Linked DNA regions of Homo sapiens: region 1 is linked to region 2. The links are contacts of gene promoters, found by promoter capture Hi-C in human tissues and cell types (Jung and others, 2019). All regions are on one chromosome and are shown on one strand. The core of a region is centred on a gene start or on the middle of the fragment in contact, and the rest is flanking DNA. Distances in the headings are between cores, read along the strand shown. Region 1 overlaps ADAM32 (ADAM metallopeptidase domain 32). Region 2 holds the start of ADAM32 (ADAM metallopeptidase domain 32).

Region 1 (6,501 bases), core at 3,582-6,081, 150 kb before region 2:
GTTATCAATGGAAAAAGCTAGGCAAAGTGTACATGACAGCCCTGTGCAATTTTTGCAACTTTTTGTCTTTAAATTATTTCAAAACAAAACAATTTTTAGAAAAGGAATGGTGAGTAAGACTGGGAAATATACTGGAAAATCCTAGTATTCACTGACTAAACATAAAGATGATAATAACAAAAATAACACTGACTTATTTGGGAGAAATTTGAAAGTCAAATGACAAACATTGAAAATGGAAGGAGTTAAATGACTGAAGTCCTTGGGTTATTTCCAAGAAGACTATATGTAATGATTAAATTTAGACATTATATAACATTAACTACAAATACTAAAACTTAAAGAAAATCACTAAAACAAAAACAGAATACAAAAATGTCCAGAGTTAAAGAAAAAAAAAGAGAACAGAAAAATGAAACCATTTGAGAGCAGCTGCTGACATGGAGAAACCCAGTCTCTACTAAAAATACAAAAAATTAGCCAGGCGTGGTGGTGCACGCCTGTAATACCAGCTTCTGGGGAGGCTGGGGCAGGAGAATCACTTGAACCCGGCGAGCTAAGGTTGCAGTGAGCCAAGATCATGCCTCTGCACTCCAGCCTGGGCAACAAGAGCAAAGCTTCGTCTCAAAAAAGAAAGAAAAATGAAACCAAGAAAATAGATGATAGAAAAAGGAAAAAAAAAACAAAAAACATGGTAAATAGGAAAAAAGTAGGATGGCAAATTTCAGCCTAAACATATGTCATCATGGATTAAGCATATGAGCATAATGAACTCCATTAGTGCATTTCATATAAAGGCTGTTTATAAGACACCAGCTAAATGCAAAGACAGATTGAGAAAAAAACGAAAAAAGTTGTACCAGGTAAACGTCATTTTTAAAGAGAAAGTTGATATAGCAATCTAAAACAGTGAAAATTGTATTTAAGATATTATTAGTAATGATTAAAGGAAAATACATCAAGAAAATTTAACTAAAATAAACATTATGCATTTAGTCACTGCCTCAGAATATCTGAAGCGAAAATTTCAACAATCAGAGGGAAAGCTACAACCCACTGAAAATTTTACTTTGCCTCTCACAGAAGACAAAGTATCAAACGGACAGGAAAAAAACCCAGTATGTATAAAAATGATTTGAAACAACACAATTAAAAAGTTGGTCCTAAAAACATTGGAGGACACATATCAAGCTTACACATTTATAAAAATTTACTTCATTTTTTGTTCCAACATTTAAGAGAACCACATAGACAAGTTTCTCAAAATAAGCTAATAAAATTAGAAAATTATTTTTAAAACAATGAAAATAAATCATATAATTGAAAACTAAAGATTACAATTGATTCATTATTTAAACAAGAAATCCTGCTAGATTTTTCAAATTTTTTTAACTGAATGTCGACTATCATTTAAAAACTGGAGAGTATAAAGGAAATGATATATGTTAAGGAGAAGGTTTTTGCTATTAAAGTATTTCTTATTTTAGAAAATAAGAAGGGTTGAAAATTAATAAAGAAAGCATTAAAATCAAGAAATCTAGAGTTACAACAGAGCAAAGGTAAAAAGACCAGAAAGGAGGAAAAAGAGCAAAACTTGATATAAAAAACAATAGAAATAGAGACCACAATGAAACCAAAAGTTACATGTTTCAAACTACTAACAAAATAAAAACACCTCTGAGCGGACTGCTCATGAAAAAGAAAAAAAAAAGACAAAACAAACAAACCAAAATTGAAAAAGAAATGCATCTGCAGAGAAAGTATAGCTATTTAAAATTATACATAAAACAATACTAGGTAGGTTATGGGATATGGATAATGCCACGTGTATTAAAAACATGTAAGATACACAAACATTCAGTGTAGACATCCTCTACAGGGAGGGAAGGGGATCATACCAGAAGGAATTGCAGCTGCAAATACAATGGCTTATTTTATAAGAGAAACAAGAAAAATATTAATATCTGTTTATTTCCCATGGTGGGCAAGAGGATGTTTGTCATGTTGTTCTCTGTCTTAGTGTTTGAATTATTTCTTGAAAAATAAAAATGTAATAATCTAAATTACAAATTTCCCTTCTGAAAATTTAACCCAAAGAATATTTTTAAAATTACTTCTTATATGAGCCAGCAATGTGAATTAAAATATTTAGTCTGTAGTAAGGCCCTGAAATCTGCATTTTTAATAAATACTTCTGTTGTAGATGATACAGATCATCCCCTTTGATAAGAAAAGAACAGATATTACGTAAACATTTGACTTCTTCCTCTCTCAACTAGCAGTTCAATGACTTTGGCAAACTATGTAAATTACACTTCCAAATCTTTGTGTCTTAAAAATGGGTATTCACAGCTACCTCATAAAATTAAATGACATATTGATGTAATACTCAAAATCCCAGTGATATGTAAAGTATTGCTACTGCTCGTGATATTGTCTTACATATAACTAGATTCAAATGGTACTAATGTTTAACTTCAGAACACAAATGCAATTTACTCGCTACTTGGGAATTCCTCTTCCTTGGCGAACCACTTTTTCAACTGTTTCCTTGCCAAAACTATTGCGGTTGTTACAATGAGAATAGGAAGAGCAATGAGGAAACCTAGAAGCCAGGTGTTTTCAGTCTTCCCAGATGCTCTTTCCATGATTGAACCTAAAAACAGAAATACAAAAAAAAAAAAACAAAAAAATTAAACTATCTACTTTTACTTTCAAGTTGCAACACATTCATTAAAATCTTCTGAATTTGTATTGTTATTCAAGGAACATGGAAAAAATCATTATAGAATTGTAATCATAATCCTTGGGGCTACCTGTACAACGTTTCATTCTAAAAGCATGGAAACCAAGTTTTGGAAAGTTCAAAAGTATTCAAGTCTCACAGCAGCTACAGCAAAATCTCACTATAACCCTCTAAGTAGGGACAAAAAAATTCAATGATATACAACGTGGGATTGTGTAATTGCATGGTTATCCAAAAATGCACTCTTACAAGGTGCATTATCAAAGGAATTCAGTGTATTTGTGTATATCTTATTTTTCTTTGGTAGATTGTTGGCTTTTGGCCTTGGGGATCATGTTGTAAATGGGGTCATTGCAATACTACTAAAAGGGCACTGGCATAAAAATTAGAAGAATTGATTCCTAATCCTAATTCTGTCCCTTGCTATCACTGGATACATAGACCTAAACATATTCTCTAAACTCCATGAGGAGAAGAACTTCATTTTGCTCACCGTACATCCCCAGTGTGTAGACCAGCACCTGGACCTGGCATATATTAAGAGTTCAGTAAACATTTGCTAACTCAATAAATGAATTAATGACAGAAATGGAAGCTGTGGGGCACAAACAGAATAATATGCCAGCATCACTTCTGTCATCTCCTAAGCAGAAATTGATGGATTTTTCTGATTTAAATGATAAACTCCTTCAGAGTAAAATCTTGTCTTCTATTTCATTTCTTCTGTAACAGAAACACAGTAACAGTACTAGACACAGAGAAAATGTCATTTGTTTAGAGCTGAGGTCACAGGATCAGTCATAAAGCTGAGGAAGAGAGGTTGAAAATATTCTAAAAGATAAAGTCAATGATATCAGTAAAGAGAAATTTTAAAAGGTATTCAGCGTGAATTATGATATTTTAATGTTAGAAAAAAGAGCAAGACAAGATCGGGCACATTCAGGCTGGTATGGCCATAGACAATAAGGCTAAAGTCACCAAAACAGCATGGTACTGATATAAAAATAGACACAGAGACCAATGGAATGGAATAGGGAATCCAGAAATAAAGCCAAGTACGTACAGCCAACTGATCTTCAACAAAGCAAACAAAAACATAACATGGGGAAAGGACACCCTATTCAACAAATGGCACTGGGATAACTGGCAAGCCATATGTAGAAGAATTAAACCAGATCCTCATCTCTCACCTTATACAAACATCAACTCAAGAGGGATCAAAGACTTAAATTTAAGACCTGAAACCATAAAAATTCTAGAATATAACATCAGGAAACTATTCTAGACATTGGCTTAGGCAAAGCGTTCATGAGCAAGAACCCAAAAACAAATGCAATAAAAACAAAGATAAATAGAAGGGACTTAATTAAATTTAAAAGCTTCTGCGAAGCAAAAGATATAATCAGCAGAGTAAACAGATAACCCACAGAGTGGGAGGAAATCTTCACAAACTATGCATCTGACAAAGAACTAATATCCAGAATCTATAAGGAACCCAAACAAATCAGCAAGAAAAAAAGGAATTCCATCAAAACATGGGCTAAGGACATGAATAGGTAACTCTCAAAAGAAGATATACAAATGGCCAACAAACATATGAAAAAATGCTCAACATCACTAATGATCAGGGAAATGTAAATCAAAACCACAATGCAATACCACCTTACTCCTGCAAGAATGGTCATAATTTAAAAATCAAAAAATAATAGATGTTGGCATGGATGTGCTTAAAGGGGAGCACTTTTACGTTGTTGGTGGGAATGTAAACTAGCACAGCCACTACGAAAAACAGTATGGCAATTTCTTGAAGAACCAAAAGTAGATCTACCATTTGATCCAGCAATCCCACTATTGGAAATCTACCCAGAGGAAGTCATTATATAAAAGTCATTACATAAAAAGACGCTAACACAAATGTTTATAGCAGCACAATTTGCAACTGCAAAAATATGGAACCAGCCCAAATGCCCATCAATCAGTGAGTGAATAAAGAAAGTGTGATGTATATATACACCATGGAATACTACTCAGCCATTAAAAGGAACAAAATAATAGCATTCGCAGCAACCTGGATGGAGTTTGAGACCATTATTCTAAGTGAAGTAACTCTTCACTTGAAGAATGGAAAACCAAATATCATATGTTCTCACTCATAAGTGGGAGCTAAGCTATGAGGACACAAAGGCATAAGAATGATACAATGGACTTTGGGGTATTGAGGGGAAGGATAGGAGTAGGTGAGGTATAAAAGACTACACATTGGGTACAGTATACACTGCTTGGGTGATGGCTGCACCAAAATCTCAGAAATCACCACTAAAGAACTTATCCATGTTACCAAAATCCACCTATTCCTCAAAAACCTATTGAAATAAAAAAAATTAATTGATTAGTTAATTATAAAGAAAAGAGAGCAAGATTAAGATGGCATGTTTGGTTTCCATTCCTTGAGAGAATTCTGATTACCTTTTTATTACAAATATCAGTTGCCTTGTAAGTGGAAAAATCGAACTTTGTTTTAGTGAAGATAAGCAATTTGAGAATTTTATTAAATGGGTATTTAAAGAGACAAATACTTGCCCATATCTTCCTCAGGAAATATGGAAAATCCTTTGGAACGTATTTGGCAGTTTGGAGGCTTATAGCCTGGCGAACAATGGCACTTGTTTCTGGAATCACACACCTAGGATCATTTTGAAAAATTAAATGATTGTTTTAAAATATTTTCTCAGAGAAGGTGAGCATCAAGCTTACTTTTGTACCATAATCTAGTGTAATTTTGTTTATTTAGAGCGACAGTCTCACATATCAAATGTTTGGTTTCTTAGACTACAACACAGACACACACACAAAGCAAAAAAAAAAAAAAAAGAACTATAAAGTGAGGCTCTCAATATTTGCATCAAGAAAATTTGACACCTTGAAATGTTTACCTACAAATTTACGATGCAATTTCAAAAATGCATACTTAAATTATAATGAAAATGTGACCCCTCCAGTGACATGCTGGAGCCAGCATATATGAGTCTATCTTTGAGCTATTTTCATCCATCGCTTTATATGTCTCTATTTTATGACAGTAACATCCTGTTCTGGTTACTGTACCTTTGTACTGTATTTTGAAAAGCTTTGTTCTTCTTTTTAAAAATTGCTTCTAATTATCTGGATTTTTTTCATCTTATATAATTTTTTTATTTTCTATTTCTTTGAAAAATAACATGGAGATTCTGATAAGGATTGCATGGAATCTGTAGATAATTTTGACTATTAGGGATAGTTTAACAATATTAGTTTCTTCAATCCGTGGAATATCTTTCAATTTTTTGTGTCTCTTTTACTTTTTTTCATGTTTCATAGTTTTCAGTGTACAAGTCGTTCACCTCCTTGGTTTGTTTTAAACCTAAGTATTTTATTCTTTTTGATGCTGTTGTAAATGGGATTGTTTAACTAATCTCCTTTCCTGACCGTCTGTTTTTGACGTATAAAAATGAACTGATTTTTGAGTGTTGTTTTTGTGTCCTGCAACTTTACTGAATTCATTATTTCTTCTACTAGTTTTATGGAACCTTTATGGTTTCCTGTGTATACAATCATGGCATTTGCAAACAGAAGCTACTTTATTTCTACTTTCCCATTTGGATGCTATTTATTTCTTTTCCTTGCCTCATTGCTTCATCTAGGAATTCCAGTACCAAGTTGAAGAGAAGTGCAGAGACTGAGTATCCTTGCATTGTTATAGATCTTAAAGTAAAGGC
Region 2 (6,864 bases), core at 2,963-5,462:
AAGCCAAATTTGGCCTCAACTATCCCACCTTAGGAAAAGACTGATACATAAATGCGTATGTCACTTCAAAAATCTAGCAGGTATCATAGCTTTTACATCAAATTTAGGCAAAGCCTCAGAATCATTTTCAACAAAACATGGTAGGTAGTCACTGCCACTCCATCGGATGTCAGCTTTTCCCAACTTGTTCTTTTTTTTTTTCCTTTTTTTTTTTTTTTTTTTTTTGAGAAAGAGTCTTGCTCTGTTGCCCAGGCTGGAGTGCAGAGGTGCGATATTGGCTCACTGCAACCTCCACCTCGCAGGTTCAAGCAATTCTGCCTCAGCTGGGATTACAGGCATGTGCCACCACAATCAGCTAATTTTTGTATTTTTTTTAGTAGAGATGGGGTTTCACCATGGCCAGGCTGGTCCTGAACTCCTGGCCTCAAGTGATCCACCCACCTTGGCCTCCCAAAGTGCTGGGATTACAAGCATAAGCCACCATTCCCAGCCTCTTCCCAATTTGTTCTATGTCAAGACTATCCTAATCAAAATCTAAGCAAGCTATTTTGTGGATATCAACCAACATATTCTACTGTTTACATGAGGAGGTAAAAGACCCAGAATAGCCAACTCATTATTGGGGGATAACAAAGTCCAGAAGAGGAAATGGACATACCTATACCACTGAGCCTAACAGTTTCTTTGTAAGTACATATCCAAGAGAAATGAAAACATATGTCCACACAAAAACTGGTACATGAAGGTTCCTAGCAGCATTACTCCTAACAGCCAAAAGTTGGAAACAATCAAATGTCCATCAACTGATGAATCAGTAAACAAACGGGTGAATATATACAATGAAATATTATTCAGTCACAAAAAGGAATGAAGTTCTAATGCATTCTACAACAGAGACGAACCTTGAAAACATTATGCAAGTGAATTAAGCCAGACAAAAAAGGTCATATTTTGTATGATTCCATTTATACGAAATACCCAGAATAGATAAATCCAAAGGGACAGTGGCTGCCAGATAAATCCAAAGCAGATCAGTGGCTGCCAGGGGCTGGAAGCAGGAGGACATGAGGAGTGACTGCTTAATGTGAAAATGCCATCCCCAAATTGCTGAGCAAGATCCCTCAGCTGATGGGACCATCAGCAGTTTGGAGCTGGCATTTTCATTTGAAAGTTTAAATTCTCTCTTCTGAGTTATAATAAAAAAGACAGCCAGGATTTCTTGCACTTGTAGTTATGCATATAATTTATAATATGACAGCATTAATAAAAGAAGTTCTCATTCATTGCTGGGGTGAATGCAAATGGTACAGCCACTTTGGAAGACAGCTTGGCAGTTTCTTTAAAAACTAAATATACTCTTATCATATGATTCAGCAATAGCATTTCTTGGTATTTACCCAAATGAGTTGAAAACTTATGTCCACACAAAAACCTGCACATAGATGTTTATAGCAGCTTTATTCATAACTGCCAAAGCTTAGAAGCAACCAAGATGTCATTTGGTAGGTAAATGGATAAATAAACTGTGGTAGATCCAGACAATTGAATATTATTCAGCACTAAAAATAAAAAAGCGGCCGGGTGCAGCGGCTCATGCCTGTAATCCTAGCACTTTGGGAGGCCAAGGTGGGTGGATCACTTGAAGTCAGGAGTTCGAAACCAGCCTGGTCAACACAGTGAAACCCCATCTCTACTAAAAATACAAAAAAATTAGCTGGGCATGGTAGCAGGCACCTGTAATCCCAGCTATTTGGGAGGCTGAGGCAGGAAAATTGCTTGAACCGGGAGGCGGAGTTTGCAGTGAGCCAAGATCCTGCCACTGCACTCCAGCCTGGGCGACAGAGTAAGACACCATCTCAAAAAAACAATTAAGTAAGTAAATAAGCTATCAAGCCATGAAAAGGCATGGGAGAACCTTAAATGCATATTATTAAGTAAAAAAAAAGTCCATCCAAAATGGCTACATATGATTTCAAATACATGACACTCTGGAAAAGGCAAAACTAAGAAGACTAAGGAGATGAGTTGTTGCCAGGGGCAGTGGGGAGGGAGGGATAAATAAGCAGAACACATGGGATTTGTAGGGCAGTGAAACTATTCTGTATAATACTACAATGGTGGATGCATGTCATTGTACATTTGTCAAAACCATAGAATGGGCAATGTGGAGAATGAACCCTAATGCAAACAAACTGTGGACTTTGGATGATAACAATGTGTCAGTGTAGGCTCAATTGTAACAAATGGATCCCATGGTGCCAGATGTTGATAGTGGGAGAAGCTGTTCATATTTGGGATCAGGGGCTATATGGGAACTCTTTCAGCTCAATTTTGCTATGAACCTAAACGTACTCTAAAAAATAATGTTCATTAATATTTTTTTTTTATTTTATTTTTTGAGATGGAGTTTTGCTCTTGTCACCCAGGCTGGAGTGCGATGGTGCCATCTCAGCTCACTGCAACTCCTGCCTCCTGGGTTCAACCGATTCTCCTGCCTCAGCTTCCCGAGTAGCTGGGATTACAGGCACGCACCACCACGCCCAGCTAATTTTTTTGTATTTTAGTAGCAATGGGGTTTCACCATGTTGGCCAGGCTGATTTCAAACTCCTGACCTCACTCAGGTGATCCACCTGCCTCAGCCTCCCAAAGTGCTGGGATTACAGGCGTGAGCCACCACGCCTGGCCGTTACTTTTATTTTTAATGAATGAAATACACATTCTTACATTTCTATTTTAATTTCTAATATGTTAAACATCGATATAAATCCACATAAACAAAAGCTCTTTGAGAATCTCAAAAATTGTTCATGTATAAGGCAGTTCTGAACCCAAAAACTTTGACAACCACTGCATTAAAATTTTGTATGTGTTATGAACTGAATGTATCCCACAAAATTCTATGTTGAATCCCTAACCCCCAATGTGACAGTATTTGGTTATGGCCTTTGGGAGGTAATCAGGGTTTTAGGCATAGAGTGGGACCCTCATGATGAGATTCATGCCCTTATAAGATGAGACATCAGAGAATTTCCTCCTCCTGTCTTTCCCTGTACACAAAGAAAAGGTCCTGTGAGTACGCAGGGAGAAGGTAGCTGTTTACAAGCCAGGAAGAGAACACTCACCCTAATCTAACCAGGCTGACACCCTGGCCTTGACCACACCTCTGCTATGCTGCAGAGGTAATTATGGCAGGATAGGAAGAAGAGTAGGAAGAGTTCTCAAAAATTTACAGTATCACCAGGGAGGCTTACATGCAAGTAAAATGTTTGGATATGCCCGTATTTTTTTCCTTCTCTTATTACATACTATTCTGAATCTTGTCAGCCAGAGTCAGTACATGGCATGTCTTACTTCCTCCCTCTCCACAGTGGTCCATTTGCATTGTTTGGAGATAACCACAGTTTATTTAGCAGTTCTCTTACTAATGAACTTTTACAGTTTTTCAATCATTTTGCTGTTAAGTACTATATTAGTCAGCTCCCACTGCCATAACAAAATAGTGTAGACTGCATGGCTTAAACAACAGAAATTTATTTTCCTCATAGTTCTGGAGAACTACGATCTGGAGTCTCCCTCTGTTGCCTACTGTTGCCCACTGCACTCCAGCCTGGGCGACAGAAGGGACTCGGTCACACACAAAAATAATTTTTTTAATTTATAAAAAAGACAGGATCTCTGTCGCCCAGGCTGGAGTCCAGTGGGGGCGATCTTGGCTCACTGCAGCCTCCACCTCCTGGACTCACGTGGTCCTCCTCCCTCAGCCTCCCGGGTAGCTGGGATCACAGGTGCGCACCACCACCTCGGAACATTTTTTTAAATTTTTTTGTAGAGATGGGGTCTTGCTGTGTTGCCCAAGCTGGTCTCCAACTCCGAGGTCAAACAATCAGCTCGCCTCAGTCTCTCAAAGCCCTGGGATTACAGGCGTGAGCCCTGGTGCTGGGCCCTGAGTCGCTTCTCCATCCGGACGGGGCGCCTAATCCCCTGGAAAAGGCCCCGTTGCCAGGGTGACAGGACCAAAGGGACCCAGACAGGGAGGGCCCCGGGCTTTGCAGGGAGTCGGGCCGCAGTGTGACGAGCGCCCGGACTAGTGTCAGGGTCTGGGCTGGCTCACCGGGTCTTGACGCCAGGAGGCCGCAGAGCCCGGCCAGCAGCAACCAGAGGCGGAACATGGTGCGGCTTCGGGGCTGCCAGCGGGAAGCCGTTGGGAAGTCGGGAATTGCCAGGGACGCGGGGACGCGCGGACGCCGGGGGCCGCTCCCCGCACGTTCATGGGACAGCGTTCTCCGGAGGCCCCGGAGACGGGGTGCTCTCGGTGTTTAGCGTCCGGAACACGAAGGGCCCGCAGCGTGCGCCCCGAGGCTAAAACATCCAGCTCCCTTCCCGGCGCACCCCAGCCGCGTGGTTGCTGGAGCCACTGACCACCCAGCGCCCTCTGTCGAGATCGCGCTCGTAGTCCTCCACTAACTTTTCGCTTTGTGTTGCTGGACCTTAAGAACTGACACACTTATTCACAGTCAGCGTGTGCTCTCCTGCACCAGACACTTCCCAGTTGCTTTTTTTTCTTTTTGGGACGGGGGTGCTCACTATTCTGCCCAGGCTGGTCTCGAACTCCTGGGTTCAAGTGATCCTCCCTCCTCAACTTCCTGAGTAGCTGGGATTACAGGCATCTGCCACCGTTCGGGGCTTCCTAGGTCCTTTCAAAAGCGAATGTGTAATACTTTCTGAATTAAAATCTATATACACACCTAAATATATATTCATATTTGCCAAACCTGTTTCTAATATTTTTTCAAAACTATTTAGCCAGATGTGTGAACATTCCAAAGAAGGGAAAAGTGAGCCGCTTTTCAATATGAAATGCCAGCTCTTCATATTTTTGAAGAGCGCCAGCTGCATTTTTTTCCCCACTGACGCTGCCCAAATGGACTTCACAACCAGGCTTTTTCCTCCAATCTGGTTCTCCGCAGGCCATTGGCTAAAACTCATGTGATGTCATTCTATTGTTCAGAAACTTCTCAGTGCAATAAATACTTATTTCATGTAGTGAAAGATTTAGAGATTCTTGCCCACAATTACAGTAATTACATTCCAGTAGAAAATTCTAGCCTCAGCATAGTAATTTTTCTGAACTCAGACCGGAACCTGCCACTTAATTTCTCCTATCCCGTGTTTTAGCAGCTCTGACTTTGGGTTTTTCCTAAACACTGCTTTACTCCCTGGAACTGCAATGCCTCCTCCTTCCCAGCCTCACACCTGGTCTCCATCTGTATGCATTAGCTTTTCATTCTTTTCAAATCCCAAAGAATGGATTAATTTCTCATACTACATAATAGGCCAACACATAAACTAAAAGGCCTCATGGGAACAGAGAAAAATCTCACTTGGGGAACTAAGACATTTAAAGTGAAGATGTGATTTTTATGGATGCACGCAATTTCAACAGGGCAATCTACACCTGAAATTAATAGCATGAACAAAAACAAGGCAACAGGCCAGGTGAGGTGGCTCACGCCTGTAATCCCAGCACTTAGGGAGGCCGAGGTGGTTGGATCACCAGAGGTCAGGAGTTTGAAACCAGCCTGGTCAACATGGTGAAACCCCGTTTCTACTAAAAAATACAAAAATTAGCCGGGCATGGTTGTGGGCGCCTGTAATCCCAGCACTTGGGGAGGCTGAGGAAGGAGAATCGCTTGAGCCCAGGAAGTGGAGGTTGCAGTGAGCCGAGATTGTGCCATTGCCCTCCAGCCTGGGTGACGAGCAAAACTCCATCTGGGGCAGGTGGAGGGGTGGGGTGGGGAACAAGGCAACAAAAAAATACACTGAGCTTGTATCTCAATAGGAACAGCCAATGCTAAGCTAACACTGCTTTTAGGCAGCTGCTGAGCCACAGCTAGTTTCACCTTGCTTTGTAACAAACAGAAGAGCAATTACAGTAAATGCTTCAACTCATCAATTAGTGGTAAGTATTCTGAATGAATTTCTGGCTCTTGTATTATTTTGTTCTTTCTTACTCCTCAACCTTTCTGGTTTGTATCTTTAATAGGGTTGATTTTGTATTATTCTTGTGTGTATGCCTCTCTTCATAACAGAGGATGCACTTCTAAAAGTCGGGAAACATATCCTATCCAGAACTTAGATATCACAGTACCTAATACAGTGCCTGAAAAATGGTAGGTTTTAGTAAACATTTATGAAATTTAATAAAATCTGATTTGAGTTTAGAAAACCCAAATTGTGCTTAACTCTATGGTTACAGACACAGGAGAAAGCGAGAATGCAATACTCTGAACAAGGTCAGTTTGACATACAGAGTCAAACAGAGATGTCAAACTTGCATATAATTTACCCTTATTTATTCTTTTTGAAGAAAGAAAGGATGTCCTTTAATATTTTCAAATTTTGAAGTGGCATCCATGACCAAGTAAGTAAAAAACATAAAGCATATTAAAAAATATATAAAAGAAGTTCAGATCCAATAGTCTTTTTAAAAACTTAACTAGTCAAATATCCAAAGAACTATTTAATTCCAAGTGTTAAGTTACATAGTTAATACATTACCAACTGTAAAATTTCAGTGATATGCATCACAATTGCAAAAACTGAGGCTACATGAGTGAACAGCACAAACGTTTGAGTCTTATATGAATTCATTTAGAGATTTAAAATGAAACGATGGACCTTCATTTGAGATTGCTCACAATTTTTAATATGTATACTTGATTGTTAAAATAACATGCTGTCTTCAGAAAACTGAAATTTTTGCCTTCTTCAAAACTAATCTGTTCTTTATTAACAAAAAGCCATTGTGCACACTTTGGCAAAAGTCTGAAAATTAGTGAGATAATATCTGTAAAAATTTGACT

The links. The method cuts DNA at HindIII sites, captures the fragments that hold promoters and counts their contacts. A contact is called where the count stands out against the background at its distance.
Region 1: a fragment that was not itself captured here is called in contact with the fragment with the promoter of ADAM32 in region 2 in 1 of the 25 tissues and cell types used here (dorsolateral prefrontal cortex).

The regions. Positions count from the first base shown.
Region 1 is chr8:39,253,342-39,259,842 of GRCh38, reverse strand. It overlaps ADAM32 (ADAM metallopeptidase domain 32), which reads right to left. Exons shown (of 25, transcript NM_145004.7): 18 at 5,327-5,429; 19 at 2,500-2,656. Among named protein-coding and RNA genes, the nearest start is that of ADAM32, 150 kb to the right of the region's middle. The HindIII fragment of the contact is 4,346 bases long and covers 2,659-6,501 here.
Region 2 is chr8:39,105,082-39,111,945 of GRCh38, reverse strand. It overlaps ADAM32 (ADAM metallopeptidase domain 32), which reads right to left and starts at 4,212. Exons shown (of 25, transcript NM_145004.7): 1 at 4,113-4,212. The coding sequence starts at 4,170. ADAM9 (ADAM metallopeptidase domain 9) reads right to left here. Exons shown (of 22, transcript NM_003816.3): 22 at 6,685-6,864. The HindIII fragment of the contact is 10,909 bases long and covers 1-6,864 here.